2 separate regions of the Homo sapiens genome follow, and region 1 is linked to region 2. The links are contacts of gene promoters, found by promoter capture Hi-C in human tissues and cell types (Jung and others, 2019). All regions are on one chromosome and are shown on one strand. Each heading gives the region's core, a stretch centred on a gene start or on the middle of the fragment in contact. The rest is flanking DNA. Distances are from core to core; before and after follow the strand shown. Region 1 overlaps KREMEN1 (kringle containing transmembrane protein 1). Region 2 holds the start of EMID1 (EMI domain containing 1).

Region 1 (7,483 bases), core at 1,929-4,428, 95 kb before region 2:
TCTCCTGCCTCAGCCTCCCAAGTAGCTGGATTACAGGTGCCCACAACCGTGCCCAGCTAATTTTTGTATTTTTAGTAGAGACGGGGTTCACCATGTTGGCCAGGCTGGTCTCAAACTCCTGACCTTGTGATTCGCCTGCCTCGGCTTCCCAAAGTGCTGGGATTACAGGCATGAGCCACCACACTTGGCTGTGTACCATTTATACTTTACAGCTAAAGTGAAAATTCCAACTTTTGTTGATAGCCAAAGCAATATTGAAATGAACATTAATAGGCCAGGTGAGGTGGCTCATGCTTATAATCCCAGCACTTTGGGAGACCAAGGTGGGAGGATCGCTAGAGCCAAGGAGTTCAAGACTAGCCTGGGCAACATAGGGAGACCCTGTCTTTACAGAAAACTTAAAAATTCACCAGGTATGGTAGCATGTGCCTATGGTCCCAGCTACTCAGGAGGATTGCTTGAGCTCAGGAGGTTGAGGCTGAGCTCGCATCACAGGCACCCTTGTTTTACTTGATTGTACTTTTATTTGTGGAAGAGTGCTGATGGAATTTATGGAGGCTTTACCTCTTTAAGCCTCTCCTTGGTAGCCACTGAAAAAAGCCATATATTTCAACAATCTTCCCCACACCTAGCACAGTGGAGAGTGTAAAAGTGCTTGCTAAGTATTCTTTCTTGGCTGGGTGTGGTGGCTCATGCCTGTAATCCCAACACTTTGGGAGGCCAAGATGGGCAGATCGCTTGAGCCCACGAGTTCAACGCCAGCCTGGGCAATGTGGTGAAACCCTGTCTCTACCAAAAATACAAAAATTAGCCAGGTGTGATGGGCATGTAGCCTGTAGTCCAGCTACTTGGGAGGCTAAGGCAGGAGAATCGCTTGAACCCAGGAGGCGGAGGTTGCGGTAAGCCTAGATTGCGCCATTGCACTTTAGTCTGGGCGATGAGAGTGAAACCCTGTCTCAAAAGACAAAATTCTTTCTTGATGCCATGAAGTCTTATCTCTTCCTCTCTTCCCATAAGAGACAACACAAGCTGGTGGAAAGATGGAAAGAATGTGGACATCTGAGTCACACCCAGTTAGGTTTGAATCATTATCTGCTTAATAGCTTTAGGCACAATGACTCTCAGTTGTGCCTGGGTTTCCTCATTGGTGCCTTCCAGAGTTTTTTTTGAAGATTAAATGAATAAAATGCATGCTGCCCTAAGTCCTAGCACATATCAGGTAGACATGAAAGTACCAACAGGTATTGTGATGGTATGCTCTCCCCAGGGAATGGACTACCGTTAGTATGTCCCTGTCATCTAATTCCTAGAATATGTTATTCATAACCTGCATTTTATTTCTGCCCATCTCTTTTTTATCTAACTGACCATGGGTCTTAGGAGCAGGCATCAGCTGCTGCAGTGGCTGCTCCCTGTGGCCTGTTGCAGCACTGAACTCGGTGAACACAAGAGGCCCCACGTTTGTTTGTTGTTTGTTTGTGACAGGGTCTTGCTCTGTTGCCCAGGCTGGAGTGCAGTGGCACGATCATGGATCACTGCAGCCTTGACCTCCCAGACTCAAGTGATCCTCCCACCTCAGTGTCCCAAGTAGCTGGGACAACAGGCGCACACTACTATGCCTGGCAAATATTTTTACTTTTTGTAGAGATGGAGTCTTGCTATGTTGCCCAGGCTGGTCTCAAACTCCTGGGCTCAAGCAATCCTCCCACCTCGGCCTCCCAAAGTACTAGGATTCCAGGTGTGAGCCACTCTGCCTGGCTCCCATGTTTGTTCCTACAATGAGGTTTTATGTACTCAATTATTTTTTGGTTTTTGCCAGTGGGTATTATTTAATTTTCCATTAAAAAAATACAGACTTTCTGAACCAAATGGATATCAGTTCAGTCACAGATACAAATGTTCTAAAGCACAGTTGTGTAAAGCACACTAGGGACTTAAAAAGGAAAACTCATTCAAATTGATAGGGATGACTTTACTGAAAATCTTTATACCAGCACTTGCCTATAAGGAAGAAATAGCCCCTCAATCTTATGATGTAATTGGGAATCTGAGTTATAAACCTAAGAGAAAATTGCAGACCAGCACACCAATCATATAAATAAGTGTTGAATTATGAGGTAGAGTGTTGTGAGTTTCTGAAGACAAGAGGACTCAGTAAAGATTGTGGAAATTGGAAGAAAGGTGGCTGGTGGCTGAATGGGTCAGGGAACAGCAGGACAGAGGCTTGGAGGAAGCACAGAATTGATGAGTGTGTGGGTTGGGATCCAGGCTTCCTGAGTAGAGGAGTGGACAAAAAGGAACCAGGTCAGACCTGGAAAGCAAGAGTTAATTAGATGGGACTGATATGCTGAAAGCCCTAGTTTAGGAAGAGAAGCAAGTCCAGTGTCATTTACAGGACGGATCAAAGGAAGAAAGTTTGGGGAAGAGAGGATGCGTGTAGATTTCTAAACTCAAGGGATAAGGGCCTGGGCTATCATGGCAGCAGTGAGACAAGACAGGAAGGATTAAGTCCAAGATGCACTTAGGAAGAAGACAGAACTTGTTGACAAGTGGAATATGTAAGGGATAAAACAGCAGGAAGAGGTTCCTTGCCTGGGATATTTGTGGTGTCCCTGAAAAAAAAAGTCCAAGTCAACAAACGAGCTTTTCTTCCCAGGGACACAGCAGTTATCATTCCTCTTGAACTTGGACTGACCTTTTACCAAGTAATGTGTACTAGTTGTTTATTGCTGTGTAATGAGCCATCCCCAGCCGCAGTGACTTAAGCGCCAACAGTTTATCATTTCTCCCAGTTCTCTGGGTCGACTGAGTTTCAGCTGAGTGGTTCTTCTGCTGCTGTCACCTGGGCTTAGTGAGGTGCCTGCATTCAACTGGGAGCTCTGCTGGCATTCAAGGTGGCTTCAGACCTCTATCCAGTGACTTCTCTCAACAGCAGGGTATTCAGACTTCTTATACGGTGGCTGGCTTCCAAGAGAGAAGCAGCAGAAGCTGCCATTCCTCTTAAGGCATGAACTCAGAAGAAGTCCACCACATTCTATGGATCAAAGCAAGTGGCAAGGCCCGATTTAAGAAGTGGGGAAATCTATTAAAGTGGGAGCAACACACATGTACAGGGAGGGGAGAAATTACTAGAGCCTCTTTTGACTCTTTATCACATTAACTCACCAGAAACTAAGTTTCAGAGAAGGAACTCCCACCAGGAGGGAACTACTGCTGTGATAGATCCTGGCCTTATGGGATCAGGATTTTTAGGAACTCTTACTACCTCCCCCTAAGGGCAGAATTCCACAGAGGAAGAAAAAGCTGTGCTTACTTATTTATTTGGGGGTGTTGCTGTAAGACTCGGGGGCACAATTAAGACTGTTGGAAGAATCAGAGTGACTGAAAAGGAAGTTTATGTTTAGAAATAAAGTTACAGAGGTAGTGTGGGGCCATATCATGAGAAGGGGTTGGACCAAGATGGCAGCTGTCAGATTTGGAACGGAAGTTGCAGATGAACAGCACAGGGTGCAGTGAGCTTACGGTCACGGGTCTGAGGGTGTGGATGAATCCACACTTAACCTGTTGATGCTCTGAAAGAAGTAGGATACCAGCTGCAGCGTCTCAGATGTACATAGTTTTTCTTTCCATGGAGGGGAGAAATCAGCTACTGAGGCACCAGTGTGGGGTCCTTGAGGCAGAAGATAGTATTGACACAGAGTTAAATGACATTTAAAATCAGCAGAGAAGCACTTTGGGAGGCTGAGGCAGGAGGATCACTGGAGGCCACAAGTTTGAGACAAGCCTGGGCAACATAGTGAGACCCCATCTCTACAAGATACACAAATAATTAGCCAGCCATGGTAGTACACACTGGTAGTCCCAGCTACTCGGGAGGCTGAGATGGGAAGATCACTTGAGCTCAGGAGTTCAAGACTGCAGTGAGTATGATTGTATCACTGCACTCCAGCCTGGGCAACAGAGTGAGACCCTGTCTCTATTAAAAAAAAAAAAAAAAATTAGGCCGGGTGCGGTGGCTCACGCCTGTAATCCCAGCACTTTGGGAGGCCGAGGCGGGCGGATCATGAGGTCAGGAGATCGAGACCATCCTGGCTAACACAGTGAAACCCCGTCTCTACTAAAAAAATACAAAAAATTAGCCGGGCGTGGTGGCGGGCGCCTGTAGTCCCAGCTACGCGGGAGGCTGAGGCAGGAGAATGGCGTGAACCCGGGAGGCAGAGCTTGCAGTGAGCTGAGATCGCGCCACTGCACTCCAGCCTGGGCGACAGAGCGAGACTCCGTCTCAAAAAAAAAAAAAAAAAAAAAAAATTAGCAGAGGAGTTACATCATTTCTGAAGAAGCAGATTTTACTTAGGAAAAAAAAAAAAGGAGCTCTGCAGAGCCTTGGAAAGAGTTTTTTAGTTTTTTAAGACATAGGACAAGAACTTAGCATCTGGTTTCTTAAAGCAAATATCCCAGATCTGGTGAGAGCAGTGGAATAGAAAACATAATAATAGTCAGGGCTGCTTCTTAGTGAATTACCAGCTGAAGATTTAGATTCAAACTGAGCCTTTACTATGATGGCCGTGCCTTCTGTCTTCGATAATGATTTGGTTACCAGGACTAGAACTCATTCAAGCTAACTTGAGCAAAAGAAATCAATTTGAAGACCATTGGGATGTATCACAGAACCCAAACCCTGTATCCCAAGAAACTAGAAAGAAAGCAGGGACTTTCACTATCTGTCTCTGTGGCCACTTCATCTCCCTTCTCTGCCTCTCTCTCAGCTTGTTATCCATCCTTCTTCCTCTTCGTGGACCAGCAGAATTGGCTCATTCATCCACTCACGTGGCTCAAACTTGAGTTTGGTTGCCTCAACTCCTACTTGACAAATCCCTACAATTTCAGTGCTTGCATTCACTGAGCGGATCCCAATTCCAGCTTCCTAAGAAAGAGAATCTGGTGGCCCCAGTGTGAGGCAGCTGTGGCCAGAGGATGGAGCCCTTTGTCTTGTCCCCAGCCAGCAGTAGTTATGGGAGCAGATGCTCTGAGAAGGTGCTGTGGGTAATAGGTGGTTCTCAAAGAACAGCTGTCAGCCATGGAGGCCCCCATGGAGGTGTGTGCAGTACCTTCACAATGAAGCCACAGTTATATTCAAATGTAACAATGTTTAGTGGGCCTGCCTGATTGCTTCCCAGTTGTTTCTTATGATAGTAAAAGAACAATAGTTCCTGGGTTAATGTGAATGGAGGACCTTCTCTCTTTAACTCCTCCAAAATTTTTATCTTCAACATCTGAATATTTGTAATTAATTTTCACAAGTTTTGAAGCCTCAGCTAAGATAAACAAGGGGTCCATTTGTATGTTAAGATAATTTTTTAAAAATTGAAAGTGATGAAGCCTCTTTGGTAAGAGGAAAAATGCATGACCAAGCCACAAGGATTTCAAAGTAAGCTTGAAATGAAAAAGGAATTTGAAGACAAATATCCTTTTTCAAATTGGCTTTTCCTCCCTGCTTCTGGGAAGCGCTAAGGGTGGGACACGATCTAGAAATCCACTCAGTTGAGTAGTAATGCTTTTGAAGCAACATGACGTGTCTTCTCCGACTAGACTTCGAGCCACACTTTCCAGGACAAGTCAGAGGCAGTGGCCCCCTCAGAGGCTGACTGGGACCGCAGAGGCTTCCCTCGTGGTGAACAGAGTGTTGAGGGACTAATGTGTTTGAGAATTCAGTCTTGAATCTCAGGTCTCAGGGAGTCACTTTCATTTAGTTGCCCAGACTGGTCCTATAAGAAAAGGGGTCAGAGACATGAAAAACAAAAACAAAAACCCATGGAATGGGAGTCGGCAATCCTGGAGCTTACCCTGGCTCTCCATTCTGCCTTATGTGTGCCCACACAAGGCCTTTAACCTTGTTAGACTGGTTTCTTCTTTGTCCAGTAGGAATAATATCATCTGTCCTGCCTCCCTGAAGGGGCTAGAGCTTCCTGTGAGCTGACTTATGTGAAAATGTGCTGTATGCTATACAGATGTAAGAGATTAATATTTTAATATCCGGAATCAAACCGTTTTCTGAGGTGGCTGCCTTTGATTTTTGTCTTTTAAATCAGCCTATTTTATTTTTCTGTTATTCAGCAAGTTGTTCTTGTTTGTGTGGTGAATGATGAAAGCCTTATTGTATATAATGATGACAAACACTATTTATTCAGCACATTCTATTCTGCTAGGCCTTGTGGTATTTACTTTATTTACATTATCTCATTTTATTTCTCACAAGAACCCTTTGAGGTCCGTATTGATTCTCATTCCGCTGTTGATGAAACTGAGCTGAGAAGGGCTGTGATGGAGAGGCCAGAATTTACCCTAGGGTTTGTCTCACTGTAAAAGGCCACCTGCTCCTGGACACATGGTGGTGGCACCAGTGCCCTTCAGAACATTATCAAGTCCTAGGAAGGGAGCAAGCAAAACCCACTCCTGAGCCACAGTGTGGATGGCAGAAAGTGAGGAGCATAATGGCCCTCCCTCTTATAGAAGCTGCATGTTCTGTTTTTCATACGGTTCTTATAAGCTCCACACTTTTGTTCTAAGCCTAGGAAGCAGCAAATTAAGAAGAGGTTAAGCAAAGACTGCAGGCATTGACAGTAATAAGAAGTAGATGCCCACAAAGACCCCTTTCAGTTCTAATGTTCTGAGGTTGCAGCAGCCTTGACAGCAACTGTTTTAGACTGAATGTTTGTCCCCCACCCACCCCCACCATTCTTATGTTGAAGCCCTAACCCTGCAATGTGATGGTATTTGGAGATGAGGCCCTTGGGGAGGTAATTAGGCTTAGATGAGGTCATGAGAGTGGGACTCCCAGGATGGGATTAGTGTCCCCATAAGGAGAGGAAGAGGGCTGGGTGCAGTGGCTCATGCCTGTAATCCCAGTACTTTGGGAGGCTGAGGCAGGTGGATCACCTGAGGTCAGGAGTTCGAGACCAGCCTGGCCAACATGGTGAAACCCCATCTCTACTAAAAATACAAAAAAATTAGCTAGGCATGGTGGCGGGCACCTGTAACCCCAGCTACTCGGGAGGCTGAGGCAGGAGAATCACTTGAACCCAGTGGGTGGAGGTTGCAGTGAACCAAGATCACACCATTGTACTCCAGCCTGTGCAACAAGAGTGAAACTCCGTGTCAAAAAAAAAAAAAAAAAAAAGGAGCGGAAGAGAAATCAGAGCTACATCTCCCTCTGCCATGTGCGGACACAGCAAGAAGGTTTTGGTCTGAAAGCCAGGAAGAGGGCCCTCATCAGGAACTGAAACTGCCAGTACCTTGACCTTAGACTTCTTAGCCTCCAGAACCATGTCCATTGTTTAAGCCACCAGCCTATGGTATTTTGTTATAGCAGTCTGCGTGGACTGAGACAGCAACCAAAAGACAAATTAACTATTAAAGTCAGATACTAGAACATAAAAAAGCACACCAGTCTGGGGCCATTTTGAAGTATATTTGATGACCTCAA
Region 2 (6,708 bases), core at 1,376-3,875:
AGCTCAGACTCTTGAGCCAGAGGGACCTTAAAAGTCCTATGTGGGAGGGTTGCTTGAAGCCAGGAGTTCGAGACCAGCCTGAGCAACAGAGCAAGACCCTGTGTCTACAAAAAATATTAAAAATGAGCCAGATGTGCTGTCATACACCTGTAGTCCTAGCTAATCAGGAGGCTGAGGCAGGAGAATCGCTTGAGCCCAGGAGGTTGAGGCTGCAGTGAGCGGAAATGGCACCACTGCACTCCAGCCTGGGTGACAGTGTGAGACCCTGTCTCAAAAAAAAAAAAAAAAAAAAAAAAAGAAGATCCCATGGCTTGTTTTTTCAGGCAAAGAAATGAAGCTCAGAGAGGGGAAGTGACTTGTCTTGGGTCACACAGCTCCCAGAGGTTGCTCTGGAATTGACACCCTGGCCTATGGGTCACATGGCTTGTGGGGTGTATCCATCAGGCCACACAGCCACAAGGTGATAAATAGTGATAAATAAATCTATATTTATTTATCCGGGTCTACAGTGATAAATAAATACCCTGGACCCGGGAATCCCAGCCTCAGTAAGGACAGGCCCCTCTCTGATGTGAAAATGTTGATAACAGCTTTTACCAGGAGAGTCTCTTGCTGGGGAAATTCTGCAGCGGCCTGAGTCTGCCACAAGTTTGATGGCATTGGTTAAGAAATGTGGATGCCATTAATCGCAGGAGCATCTCAGACATGTTGCAAACAGACCTAGTAGTGCCTCCTCATTCTGTGGCACCCATCTGACACCCTAGACACCTCTCAGTCCCTCCAAGGCATTATCCAGTGCTTCTCCTTCCTAAACAGCTGCATGTTTGAGCTTCCTAAACAGCTCAAAGCACCCCTGGGGTGATGGGTTTTTATCTGGGCCGCTTGATTGGGGTTTCAGACAGGCCTGGCATCCTCTTGGGGGCATGGCTCCTCAGGAGTGACGAATTATCCAGGGTGTTAAGTCACTGATCTAGCTGTGTCAAAAACAAGGGCTAACCAGAGAGGTACAAAGCTGCATTTCTTGGAGGTCAGAGAGATGGCACAGGAGATGTGCCAAAATTTCACGTGAAAAGGAGGGCAACAGCTCCCCAAGGGGGCAACATTGGCACCATGGTGATGTCGCTGGAGGGAGAGGGAGCCCTTGGGGGACTATGTGAAGTAGGGGAGAGTGGGTGACAGGCCATTACCATGATATCTCAATCCTTCCCACACTCCTGTAACGAATGTACAACTGTCCTCCCTGCAAAAGAAACACTGAGGCTGCGAGAGGGGCAAGACTTGCCTGAGCTAACTGGAGCAGAAGTAGCAGAGGCAGGGTTTGAACCCAGCTCTCACTACCTGTCCCTTGGGACAGGGCAACAGCTTTCTCTATGTGGACACACTGGTGATGGATCCCCCGTCCTGCCTGCCTGCCTGCCTATGGTGGCCTATGCTGCCTGCCCCTGGTGAGTCCAGGAGGGGCAATCCAGTGACTGGCAGATCCTTTCTGGGGAGTGTTTCTAGAAGGGACCGTGGGTCTGGACAAGCCATAACAGGAAGTAGCCAAGCTGGGCAAGGGCTTCCCCAGCCCAGGCCTAACTACTGCCCATCGATCCAGGCAGAAGGCGGGGTTAGAGACTGCCCTGGGAGATTGGGGGTCTGGGTCCCCTCTGATGAGAGCTCTGGTCTCTCCCTATAAACACACACTCCTATCACAGACACACACATAACACACATGCACATAAATCCACATCAAGCATGCACACACATCCATCATACACACATACGACACACACATGCACCCCTGCACACACACACTACGCTTACATATACCTTTGTGGGATGTAGAGCCATTCCTCCAGAAGCCCATCCATGTACCCCAGATGAAACCACCCAACACCAATTCTTACCTTGTTACATATGGTGAAATCAAGGCATAGACCGAAGTGCTGTGGTTAAGAGCTGTTACTCTCCGAAGTCAGGCGATCTGGGTACAAATCCTGGCTCTGCCAAACCCCTGCCACGGTGCTTTAGGTAAATGACAGCTCCTTTCTGTGGCTTAGTTTCTCCACCTGTAAAATGAGAATAAGAACAGACTCTGCACTTATGGGGTCAGCCCAGATCTCCTCCTAGGGAGACTGCGAGTGCCTGGGCCTCAGTTTTCTCTTCTGTAAAATGGGGATATTGTGCCCAGTTCGAGCAGAGTGGCTTGAAGAGTCACCTGAGATAGGATGTGAAGTGGCCGCGGTGAGGTGCCCAATACACGTGGCGCGCACTGCTCAGGAAGCTTTCCTTGGAGGGCTGGATCCCGCAAAGGTGTCGAAAAAGGATGAGTCCCGGATATCATTCGCTCAGGTGAGGTGGGTTCGGGTCCCGGCTGCGTCTGGGACCGTGGCCCGGGCCTCAGTTTCCCAGTCTACAGCCCGTGGGAGGACACCTCGGAGCTGGCACCCCGCCCCCAAAAGGGCCCCGCGGCGCAGGGCGTGGGGCTCAGGTGGACACCTGGCGGGCCTCCTGGCGGGGGCGCCCTGGCCGCCCGGGCCCCTCCGGGCTCCTTCCGGGTTGGCAGCGGCGGCGCAGGGGGCGGGGGGCAGCGCAGAGGGGCCGGGCGAGGCCGGGAGCGCGCGCCCCCGCCCCCGCCCGCCCGCCTCCTGCCCGCCCTCCGGCCGCGGAGCTGGAAACCGGGCTCCGCGCGTCCGGGGCGGCTGGCGGCGCGGGCAGGCAGGCGGGGAGGACAGGCTGGGGGCGGCGACCGCGAGGGGCCGCGCGCGGAGGGCGCCTGGTGCAGCATGGGCGGCCCGCGGGCTTGGGCGCTGCTCTGCCTCGGGCTCCTGCTCCCGGGAGGCGGCGCTGCGTGGAGCATCGGGGCAGCTCCGTTCTCCGGACGCAGGTAAGAGCTCCCGGCGCCTTTGCACCCCGCTGGCCGAGGGTCCCGGCGCGCACACGCCCCCACCTCCAGGAAGGGCTGGGATTGGAGGGCGATCCAGTCCCCAGCCCGGGTGAGGGCAGGGACACGGCCATCCCGCGGTCCGGCTGAGGCTCCCGCGAGTGCGGGGTCCCCTACTCCATGTGTCGGAGCTGGCTGCCTCCCCTACTCCCTCCCTTTCAACCCAGGAGCTCGAGAGGAGGGGGAAGGGGCGCAACGAGGGCGAAGCCCTGGCCCTTCTGTTCCCCTGTCCCTAGGGCCCCTCCCCCTGCACTTGGGAAAGGCCTATGACACCCCCTAGCCGACTCTTCTCGGACCCTCTCTCCCCTTTTCCCTGTTCCTGTTTTTTTGCTTTGTTTTGTTTTTTGTTTGTTTGTTTTGTACCCAGGCTATTTATCTCCCTCGGAGGAGGGACTGGGGTGGAGTCTCACAGCCCAGTGGGTCAGTGTCGGAGATACCCCAGGGACCTGGCATTTTGGACAGAGAAAAGAGGGAGCACAGTCTTCCTTCTGCTCTCCTAGCGGCGGGGAACCTCCTCCCTGCTGGCCTTTACGGAGGAGCTCCCAGAACCTGACATGGTGGGGCCCATTATTATATATAGTGTCCTCATCAATCCTTGAAGGACCGAATGAGGTAGGGAAAACTGTCCCCATTCAACGGTTAAGCAAACTGAGACCCTAGGGAATTGGCATCATCTTTTAGCCTCATGGGCTATTCACTGAAGAGCTAGGTTGCAAATCTGCCCTTCTATCCTTGATGACAGTGTTTGAACCTGTCCTGGCCTCTGTCCTGGCTGCAGCCCCAGCGAGGGTCCCCTCCTAAAGGCCAGCCGCCGTTGTCCAAGGCAGACAATGTGGAGTAGCCAGGCCTCTCCAGGCCTTTTCATCCCATTCAAAGGCCTGCGCGGCCCCCACCCCCTACGGCCTCAATTCTTTAATTCTTTTCAGAAATTCTCCTTTCCCAGTGGTCAGGGGCCAGCATGCCCCTGCTGGGCTAGCAAGAGCAGTTGACATGGGCAGGGCTGGAGGACGGAGGTGGTTGAAGCATCAGAGGCCAGAAGAGCAGTTGTCTGAGACAGGGGTGGACGTGTGGCAGATGTTACAGCCACCACCTATTGTGTGCAGACAACAGTTAGCCTGAGTCGGCTCCGTTACCTGCATTCATCAGCTCCAGAATCCTCCCAGCTGCTTGGAGGTATGCTCTTTATGATTCTGTTTCATAGAGGAGGAAGATGAGGCTCAGAGAGGGAACATGACCTGCCCAGAGCATGGAAGTGAGCCGCCAGGATCCCAGATGCTAAGAGGACAGAGACTATGAACTCAGAAATCCCACTGTTAGGCTCAGGATGATGGTGGCGACAGCTTAAGGCCCAGACCGCCCTGCAGCCAGTTCAAGGCAGGGCTTCCCAGCCTGGGCTCCTCACCTCCCAGGGTCTCCTGGGTGGGAACAGGATGATGGCTATAACCAGGTATCTGGTGGTCACTGGGGACTGTCACTCCATGTGTTGACAGAAGCCTATCACAGTAGCCTGAGCATCCCAAAAACCCTGTGGGCAACACTATTGCACCCATTGTACAGATACGGAGGCTGAGGCCTACAGAGGACAAGTGGCACCTCAGTCCAGACCAGTCGATTTCCAAATCCAGTGGCTTTTTCTCTCCAGCAGCCTTGCTGGAAGAGGGAAAGAGGTTGTCGGCTTGGGGGCACCAGGAAAGGTTTGCAGTCATGATTAGGAGTTAGGGGCTCCAGCCTTGGACAGAATGGAGACAGAATTCCTTGCTCTTACAGGCTTGATGTGTGACCTCAAGTGGGTCACTTCCTGGCCATGGGTCTCAGTTTTGCTCTCAGTTTCCTTCTTTCCTCGTGGGAAGGACCAGCACCGGGCCTCACCTGCAGTGGTTCCTGCTATCAATCATGTCACATGGGGGTAGGGACCTGGAGCTTGAGGAGTCTGTGGGCTACCAGAACCTCCACTTGTGGCCCCATCCCCACGTTGCTGGAGACAGCATGGGGGTGTCATGCCCTGTCAGCCTTCCTGCCACCCACACCCCAGCACCCCAGGCACCCCTTGGCAGCCAAGGGACCAGACGCAGAAAAGAGGCTTTGTCCTGGGGAGGGGGTGGCCTGGGAAGGCATCCAGGGGGCCGCCCCTTGCCCCAGGAAGGTGGTGACACTTGGAGACCCCCGGAACCAGGGTGCCCAAGGGCTATGCAGAGCTGCCTTGGCTTGCCCCTGCCCCTGGGGCTGCTTCCTGCCCCGCTGAGGTCCTTCTAAGCCTGGAGTCTGCTTCCTTTAACCACTCATCTCAGCGTTTCAGCTGAGGGTTCAAGCCTTCACCAGCCCAGATCTCTCGCCCCTGCAGCACCGGCTTCCTTCCGGCAAATCCTAGGATCAGGGAGAATGGAGGGCTCTAAAATGGAGGGGATCTGCCCCAGCCTCTGTCTAGGGGGCTGCAATCCCAGCTGATGCCCACAGGGGTGACCTGGGTAGGTGCTTTCTCTTGGAGCCTGTTTCCCCCTCTGTAAAATGCAGAACCTGATAATCCCTATTCCAAGGGGAAGACCTTGTGAAGAAGGTACTGTGCTGGTGTCCCCAATCCCCAGGGAAGCCCCTGGACCAAGCTGCTGGGTGTGGGGCCCATGTCTGGGCCTGAGCCCCTCAGTCCCGGAACAGGAATGAACAATAGCTGTTAGCGCTGTGCTAAGGGATTTGAGTGAAGCTTCCCCCGCTGGAGGAAATTCTGCTGTCCCCATTTGCAGATGGACAAAATGAGGTCCAGAGAGGGTCAGGGCCTTGTCCAAGGTCACCGATGTAGGAAGCAGCAGAGCCAGGACTGGAACTTCGCCCCTACTGCGGGGCTCTGGCTCTCATCATACCACCCCTGCCCGCCCGGTCCTTTCTTTCTTCTCCTTTTCATCACAGCCCTTGGCCCCGGGCCCGCTTGGCTGCCTCCTGCAATTAGCCCCTATCACTGTTCCGGATCGCAGCCCTGGGCCCTACAGAGACAAAGTCCCCTGGGCCCCTCGTGGCAGGGGGTGGAGTGTGGGTGTAGGTGGGGGGCCTTTGTGGGAGTGGCCGGTGCCAGGCTGAGCTGGTCTGGCCTGTTTCTCCCCTCCTGGAGGCCTCTGGGGGCCTGGAGGTGCTGAGTGGGCAGAAGTGTTGGGCCCAGGAGGGAAGTGCCGCCTCTTCCCAGCCCCTGCCCTCACCAACCCCACTGCCCAGCCTCATCCAGCTCTTGGGCAGCTTATCAATGACCACACCCCAGGGAAGGAAGCCCCCAGGGGCTGCAGGGATGGAGCACATGGGGATGGGTCCCTTCATCTGTGGAAACCTCGGGTCCCAGCTCCTCTGGCCGGAGCTGCTGCCTGTTCTCCATCATTCAGTCATTCAACAAACATCGCTGAGCGTCCTCAGGCTGAGCCCTACACAAACTTGGTCCCAGCTCATGCCCTCCTCCAGCACCTGCGTGAGTGAGTAAAGCCCAGGGCTATTGTGAGTGGCTAATGGGTGGTGCCCAACCCCTGCCTGGGCCTGAGGGCTGAGACCCAAAGGATGAATAAGAGTTGGCTGGAGCAAGAGGGAGGGGCTTTCCAGGCAGAGGGATCTTCATATGCTAAGATCAGAGGTGGGAGGAGGGGCTGCATGAGTGTGCAGGAGAGGTGAGCAGAATAAGAAGTGAAGGGCAGCGCTTGCAGGGCTATAGGGAGTCATGGTGGGCTGCGGACTCCACAGTGGGTGGTGGCAACATTAGGTCTGCACTTTAGAAAGAGCCTCCTGCTACCCCTGGAAGGTGGATAGAGGTG

Evidence for each region. The method cuts DNA at HindIII sites, captures the fragments that hold promoters and counts their contacts. A contact is called where the count stands out against the background at its distance.
Region 1: a fragment that was not itself captured here is called in contact with the fragment with the promoter of EMID1 in region 2 in 2 of the 25 tissues and cell types used here (IMR-90 fibroblasts and heart right ventricle).

Annotation. Positions count from the first base shown.
Region 1 is chr22:29,107,330-29,114,812 of GRCh38, forward strand. All of the region lies in intron 3 of KREMEN1 (kringle containing transmembrane protein 1), which reads left to right. Among named protein-coding and RNA genes, the nearest start is that of KREMEN1, 38 kb to the left of the region's middle. The HindIII fragment of the contact is 6,682 bases long and covers 1-6,519 here.
Region 2 is chr22:29,203,271-29,209,978 of GRCh38, forward strand. EMID1 (EMI domain containing 1) reads left to right here and starts at 2,626. Exons shown (of 15, transcript NM_133455.4): 1 at 2,626-2,869. The coding sequence starts at 2,769. LOC101929638 (a long non-coding RNA gene) reads right to left here and starts at 2,562. Exons shown (of 5, transcript XR_938134.3): 1 at 2,201-2,562; 2 at 1,890-2,051. RefSeq lists silencers at 2,721-2,810, 2,821-2,980, 3,001-3,060. The HindIII fragment of the contact is 14,358 bases long and covers 1-6,708 here.